Linked DNA regions of Homo sapiens: region 1 is linked to region 2. Evidence: promoter capture Hi-C in human tissues and cell types (Jung and others, 2019). All regions are on one chromosome and are shown on one strand. Each heading gives the region's core, a stretch centred on a gene start or on the middle of the fragment in contact. The rest is flanking DNA. Distances are from core to core; before and after follow the strand shown. Region 1 overlaps ALOX12 (arachidonate 12-lipoxygenase, 12S type). Region 2 holds the start of AURKB (aurora kinase B).

Region 1 (3,855 bases), core at 1,305-3,804, 1.2 Mb after region 2:
TAAATATTTAATTTTAAATTAAAATTTTAATTTAATATTAAAATAAAAATATTAAAATTTAATTTAATATTGAAGCAATTAAAATTAAAATTAAATTAATTAATATTAAATTAAATTAAATTAAATTAATATTAAAATTAAAAATATTAAAATTTAATTTAATATTAAATTAATATTAAAATTAAAAATATTAAAATTTAATTTAATATTAAATTAATTAAATTAAGTTAAATTAATATTAAATTAAATTAAGTTAAATTAATATTAAATTAAATTAATTTAATATTAAAATTAAAAATTTAAATGTTTATTTAAAATTAAATTTAAATTTTAAATTTAAATTTATTTAAATTTTAATTATTTATTTAAAATTAAAATTAAAATTTTAATTTAATATTAAATTAAAATTTTAATTTTAATAAATTAAAATTTATTAAATTAAAAATATTAAAATATTTTCCTTAGCTATTAAAAAAGGCATGGTCCTTACATGCGTTTCTTTTTATCTTAGACTGTTTGTCTTCCTTTCCACATAGTTAACATGCAGGTTTCAAGCAGTTTTGGTGCTTGTCTGAATTGTTGATGCTGGACACTGGCAATGACCCCAATGACACCTTTGGTGTTAAGATACCAAAGCAGCTCACATTAACCTGAAGCTTTTCAGAAGATTCATGAAAGATGCCAAATGTCACGGAAAGGCCAAAGTCCACATGAGGAGAAAGGATGCCTAAGGATAAACAGTCCTTAATAATAATAATTGCAAGAACTAGCTGGGTGTGGCGGCATGTGCCTGCAATCCAGGTTACTTGGGAGACTGAGGCAGGAGGATCGCTTGAGCCCAGGAATTTGAGACTAGCTTGGGCCACATAGTGAAACCCTGTCTCTACAAAAAATAAAAAAAATTAGCCAGGCATGGTGGTGCACACCTGTAGTCCCAGCTACTCTGAAGGCTGAGGTTAGAGGATCGCTTCAGCCCAGGAGTTTGAAGCTGCAGTGAGTTATGATTACGCCACTGGACTCCAGCCTGGGTGACAGAGTGAGAACTTGTCTCTGAAAAAAAAAAATTTGCAAGAACTAATGTTTTTTGTAGCATTTAGCTTGTGTCACACCATTAAGTCATTTTAACCTTTAATAACCTCACGATGGAACATGTGAGGACATCTGGAAATTATTGAGGCCGGGGTTCAGGACTAAGACCCCAGCAATCCAAAGTCAGAGCCTGCATAGGCCACTGTTAAGACATGTGCAGGCTTGACCCTTGTGTGCATCTGCCAGCAACTCAGCTGTCCGCTGGGGCATGGCATTACTGTGGTGAGTGGAGACACGGAGAGGACTGAACTAGGAAACGGAATTGTAAGTGTGAATAGAGGCTTCACTTGTTCGTGTGGAGCAGAGGATGGGGAAGCAGGAGACAGCATGAGATGAATGAAATCCAAGATTCCATTCATCAGACTGGTCTCCATCTTGTCTATGTTACCGAAGGGGAAAATTCCAGAGGCGGCACAGCTATACTGGCCAGGCTTGGGGGGTCTTGGTGGAGGCCCCCAGCTGAAACACAATTTGGTTGTTTTTACCCAGGACATACTTGCATATCTTGCCAATACATCAAACTCCATGTACCTAAAACCAAACACCTCATTTTTGCTGACTCTGGTTTCTTCTAACTTTACTGTTTCTGACAATTACTCTGGTTTGTAAGCTTGTATCATTTTTGTGCTCCCTCTGCCAAGTTCCCTGTATATAAAGTATCATCAAGATTTTAAGAACATTTTCTTAAGCAAGCACAGGTCTTATTTTGCCTTCTCCCAGCAATATATATGGAACTCACTGTTTTATAAAATTACAGTATTTCTTTCTTTCTTTCTTTTTATTTAGAGACCGGGACTTGCTGTGTTGCCCAGGCTGGTCTTGAACTCCTGGTCTTAAGCAATCATACTGCTTTGGCCACCCAAAGCACTGGGATTACAGGCGTGAACCACCACACCCAGCTCTTAAAACCACAGTATTTCTAGGTCAGTATAACACACCTGCCCCAGGGACTTACAGGTGTGGCAGAAGCTTGGACTTCTGGCTTTTCTCTCTCTTGCACCCAGGCACGCTGCAGCTACCATTTCCTCCCTTCACTACGTTTTAGATTCTTTCCTTTTCATTCCTGTCATTACCATGCTAACATACATCTCTATCCACCTTACTGTTGGGCAGGTATGAGCGGCTTGCTGGCTGTTCTTCCTTGCCTTTTGGTCTGTTTCTACTTAGCTGACTCCTCAATTGGGTAGAAACATTCTTCATCAATACTATACTGTTATAGGCTGTCCCTTGTGATTTCAAACTCTAGTACCAGATACTGTTCTCTGGTTGGTTCTTATGGGCATCACTTGTTTTTCTGGCTAAATACTAGATCTAAGGTAGGAATATGGCTTTTGTTTTACTAGCAGTGTTCAAGCCCTACTGTGAGCGCACTGCTAGACTGTCAGATCTCTGAGAATTTCAGAGGATTCCTATATAATGTTAAGTGACTAAACTTAATAAACTTAATTAAAATCAACATCTCAAGATATTGAGACAGTCTCCTCTTCACTCACAAATTGCTACAAAGAGTTTTTGCTGCTGCAATATCTTTTGATATGGGGCTGTTCCTCTCTCTGGGGTCTGAGGGATATGTGATTTAATAGATTAATAAGTACCTTGAAGATGGGGTGCAGTCCTGGGAGGCACCGCATGGTGGCGACAGCGATGACCTCAGCCACCAGGTGAGTGTTCAGCAAGTGATACTGGATCTCGTGCAGTTGGAAATCTGAATTTCGGACCCAGGACTTTGCCAGGAGCCAGGCAAGTGGGGGGTCTGAGGGCAGGAACAGTGTTGGGGTTGGAGAGCTGGGGTTGGGAGGCTGAATCTGGGAGAAAGAGAAATTATTGAACTCCCATTCCGTATATGACATTATAGTCAGCATTCTTGGGGAAACAGAGATGACTAAGTAAGATTATTGCCTTCTAGGAGGTTATAGTCTAGCAGGAGGACTGTGAACCCTCCCAGCCTGCCGCTCGCTAGCTGGAGTGCCCTGATGTCAGGTGGAAGGCAGGAGGGACTGGAAGAAGGGGGTCCAGAAGGAGGCCCTAACAGTGGTGTGGGAGAAACCTGCTGCTTTGGGGTCGGCGCTCAGATGGTGGTGGAATGTGAAGGAGAAGTAGGAGGTGTAAGATTATTGACAGTTCTTGTCACCTGACTGTTAAGAATAGTGAGAGAAGGCCAGGTGCAGTGGCTCACACCTGTAATCCCAGCACTTTGGGAGGCCGAGGCAGGCAGATTACTTGAGCCCAGAAGTTCAAGACCAGCCTGGGCAATATGGCGAAACCCCATCTCTACAAAAAATACAAAAATTAGCCAGGCCCACATGGTGGCACATGCCTGTGGTCCCAGCTACTGGAGGGACTGAGGTGGGAGAATTGCTTGAACCCAGGAGGCGCAGGTTGCAGTGAGCCAAGATCACACAACTGTATTCCAGCCTGAGTGACACAGTGAGATTCTGTCTCAAAAAAAAAAAAGAAATTGCGAGAAAAGATATTCAAGAGATGGCGAGGGTTCAGAGCCAGAGGCCACTGAGAGATGAGATAGTGATTCTGAAAGTGTAGTCCTGAACTGGTAGTGTCAGCATCACTTTGGAACTTATAAAAACGCAAACTCTTAGTTCCCACCCCAGACATACTGAATCAGAAAGTCTGGTCATGGGATCCAGAAATCTGCATTTCAACAGGCATTCAGGTGATTCTGATGCACACTGAAGTGTGAGGACCATTGGATACAGGATGAGAACTCCAGGAGGCCATTTTGACTCTTGAAAAAGTAATTCTAGTTGG
Region 2 (3,843 bases), core at 352-2,851:
CTTAAATCACAGGCTTATGCCTGATCCAATAACCATAATCTGGAATAAAAGGTATTGATTAGTATAAGTTAATTGGGGCTCATTTCTGGACCTGCAATGAAGTCAGTTTCCTTCTCAAATCCTCAAAACTCTAAGTGCTTTCAGAAGTGGGAATAAAGCTGGGCGCAGTGGCTCACGCCTGTAATCCAAGCACTTTGGGAGACCAAGGCGGGCGGATCACCTGAGGCCAGCCTGAGCAATGTGATGAAACCCCGTCTCTACTAAAAATACAAAAATTAGCCGGGCGTGGTCACATGCACCTATAATCCTAGGTACTCGGGAGGCTGAGACAGGAGAATCAGTTGCACCCTGGAGGAGGAGGTTGTGGTGAGCTGAGATTGTGCCATTGCACTCCAGCCTGGGCAACACAGCGAATCTTCATCTCAAAAAAAAAAAAAAAAGTGAGATTTAAATAGGTCTTCATCAACCTAGGGATTTGGGGTTGTCAGCAACAGAAACTACTACAGAAACCGACTGCATAGACTGGAGAGACAGGTGGTCCCCTAAAGGAAAAATAGAGTGTTAGAAGAAAGGAGAAGAGTGCTGGACAGTACATACTTAATAAATATCCACTGGTTATTTCATAGAAGGCCCAAAAATGTATTTATTTAACCCAGTAATGAAATCTGAGGGTTAGGAAGAGCAGAAAAGAAGGAAGTGTGGCAGGAAGGAGGAAAAATGAAAGTGGGCCCAAACAACACGGCAGCTAACAGAGATCTTGCAACGAAAGGTCTATTGGTGGAAAAACTCCTCCCAGGAATGTCAGAACTTTTAAGAACGACATAGTAATGACACAAGAATAAACACACAGGCAAATGAGCAAACAACGGAATACAAAGTCTAGAAATAGACACAAGTAAATATGCTAACATTATATATCAAGGGCAGCATTTAAATTCTGTTGGGGCAGTTTGTTTAACAAATGGTGTTGACATAACTGGCGCTCCATCGGGCAGAGAAGTTAGACCCCAGCTCATACATGCATAAGGATAAACTCCAGTTACATTAAAGATTTAATTTTTTTTATAAAAAGAAGAAGGCCGGGCACGGTGGCTCACGCCTGTAATCCCAGCATTTTGGGAAGCCGAGGCGGGTGGATCACCTGAGGACAGGAGTTCGAGACCAGATTGGCCAACACAGCGAAAACCCGTCTCTAATAAAAATACAAAAATTAGCCAGGCGTGGTGGCGGGCGCTTGTAATCCCAGCTACTCGGGTGGCTGAGGCACGAGAATCGCTTGAACCCGGGAGGCAGAGGTTGCAGCAAGCCCAGATAGCACCATTATACTCCAGCCTGAGCGACAGAGAGAGACCTGTCTCAAAAAAGGAAAAAAAAAAAGAAAAGAAAAAGCAAGATAATTCACTGGGGGAATTTGGGGAAACTTTCCTAAACTGGAAGCCAAGCGTGAGCCCTTCTCATTCCGCCTCTTCCATTGGGTTCCCATGACTTACGTCACAGGACATCGAGCCAATGGGAACTAGGCATGGGCGACGAGCTTGCCCAATGGGGCCGGGGCGGGAGATTTGAAAAGTCCTTGGCCAGGGCGCGGCGTGGCAGATTCAGTTGTTTGCGGGCGGCCGGGAGAGTAGCAGTGCCTTGGACCCCAGGTGAGCTGGCCTCCTGTCGCAGGCCTTGCGCCGGGAGTGGGCAGATGATCAGGTAGATCAGAGGGTCCGTTGGGCTGGCCTGCGCGCACGCCGCAGGGCTGGAAGGAGGTAGGGACGATAGCAGGGCGGGGGCGGTGAGACCAGCGCCCAGATTGGGGCTAGTGTGCTGACCTGCTCCCTTTTACCAGCTCGGGCTAGCGCTTCCGGCTCGATCGGTCCAACCCCTCCCTCTCTCTCTCTTTTTCTCTGCTTCTCACGGCTGTTTCCCTTCTCCGCCCAGCTCTCCTCCCCCTTTCTCTCTAAGGATGGCCCAGAAGGAGAACTCCTACCCCTGGCCCTACGGCCGACAGACGGTAAGGCCCTTCCCTCCGTCCCTGCGCCCCCATGACCCCGCATGGCGAGTTCCTGCTGGGAAACTTGAGATCCTGCAATGAGCAATCCTTTAAGCACTTTCTTCCCCGTTATGCTCCAAAGTACGGGTCCCAAGTTTGACGACAGAACCCGCTCTGGTCATTTGTAGCCACATCCTGTCAGGTGCTGCCAACGTGAATCTGACCAGCCAGTGACTCCCAGCTGGTGAGGACCTCTGCAGGGCTCGTCACATACAAATGATATCTGGGACTGAGCAGGCAGGGCCTGGCCTTCAGGCCATGATTCCCAATCCATATCCTGAAAAAAAAAAAACTAGACAGCAAATAGAAATAGACTCTAAAAGGATATAAAGTTACAGTTTAAAAGGCCCAGGGCAAGTCTAAATTACAATTTGGAATTAATGACTAAATTGAGGTAAGAATCTAAATGGATCTAAATTGACTTATTTCCCAATGGTCCAGACAGATTTCATTGAAGGGCCTCCTCTCTGATTTGAAATGCCACCTTTATTATATATATAAATTCCCACATATATGTGGGTCTATTTCTGGACTGTATTTTATTCAACTTGCTTATTTGTAGATTGGTACCAATATCACTATTTGGGGCCTAGGGGCTTTCTTCTCTTGGCTGCAGAAGAAGGAAGGGGCCCTGCACAGGCTTTGCTCCCTGTTTTTGGAGCTCTTGCTTCCTGGAGAGTCTGTCTGTTCCCTTGTACATCAGCTCCCTCCCTCATGGAGCACTGAGTGAGGCTGTCAGGAATGGAGTCTGAATGAGAAACCATTGTCACTTTTACCTTAGTCACTCCTAAAAGAAAATGTACCTATTATTTTGAGAGTTGAAAGTGAGGCCAGGTAGGTGGCTCACGCCTGTAATCCCAGCACTGGGAGGCTGAGGCAGGTGGATCACCTGAGGTCAGGAGTTCGAGACCAGCCTGGCCAACATGGTAAAACCCCGTCTCTACTAAAAATACAAAAATTAGCCAGGCATGTGCCTGTAATCCCACCTACTCAGGAGGCCGAGGCAGGAGAATTGCCTGAACCTGGGAGGTGGAGGTTGCAGTGAGCCGAGATGGCACCATTGCACTCCAGCCTGGGTAATAGAGCGAGACTCCATCTCAAAAAAAAAAAAAAATGAAGAAGTTGAAAGTGAGAAGTGGTCCAGGGCCATCAGGGTAGCTCTTAGTGTCCTTAAAGCCTGTTCTTGCAAAAGTGTAAATCCTGGTTATTGCTATAACATTCAAGGCCTCAAGCATCTTATCTAAGCCTTAATAAACTAAGCTTTTTAGGAGACTTTGAGAATACCTCTGTGCTAAACCCCTTGAATTGTGGGTGTTCATTGACGCAGCTCTCTACTGTGGTGTAAGTGAGGGGCTGGATGAATGACTGTGTTGTTATGGACAGGACTTATACAGGTTGAACAGCTTCATGCCTGAAAAGTGTGGGCCAGGGCCAAAGAAGTGAAATGTTAGGTGTTGGTGTGAGTCCTTTGCCCCTTATCTTAGGCCTACTTAGGTTATTTATTTTTTATTTATTTATTTATTTATTTATTTATTTATTTATTTTTTGAGACGGAGCCTCACTGTGTTGCCCAGGCTGGAGTGCAATGGTGCGATCTCAGCTCACTGCAACCTCTGCCGCCCAGGTTCAAGCGATTCTCCTGCCTCAGCCTCCCGAGTAGCTGGGATTACAGGCGCCTGCCACCACACCTGGCTAATTTTTTTTTTTTTTTTTGAGATGGAGTCTAGCTCTGTTGCCCAGGCTGGAGTGCAATGGTACGATCTCGGCTCACTGCAACCTGTGCCTCCCAGGTTCAAGCGATTCTC

The links. Contacts are between HindIII fragments. The study calls those that stand out against the background at their distance.
Region 1: a contact is called between a fragment that was not itself captured here and the fragment with the promoter of AURKB in region 2, in 1 of the 25 tissues and cell types used here (pancreas).

What each region holds. Positions count from the first base shown.
Region 1 is chr17:7,000,641-7,004,495 of GRCh38, reverse strand. ALOX12 (arachidonate 12-lipoxygenase, 12S type) reads right to left here. Exons shown (of 14, transcript NM_000697.3): 8 at 2,685-2,894. The region is part of intron 2 of ALOX12-AS1 (ALOX12 antisense RNA 1); the gene reads left to right. Among named protein-coding and RNA genes, the nearest start is that of ALOX12, 6.5 kb to the right of the region's middle. The HindIII fragment of the contact is 2,751 bases long and covers 1,179-3,855 here.
Region 2 is chr17:8,208,333-8,212,175 of GRCh38, reverse strand. AURKB (aurora kinase B) reads left to right here and starts at 1,601. Exons shown (of 9, transcript NM_004217.4): 1 at 1,601-1,646; 2 at 1,927-1,999. The coding sequence starts at 1,952. RefSeq lists enhancers at 2,099-2,148, 1,710-2,369. The HindIII fragment of the contact is 18,109 bases long and covers 1-3,843 here.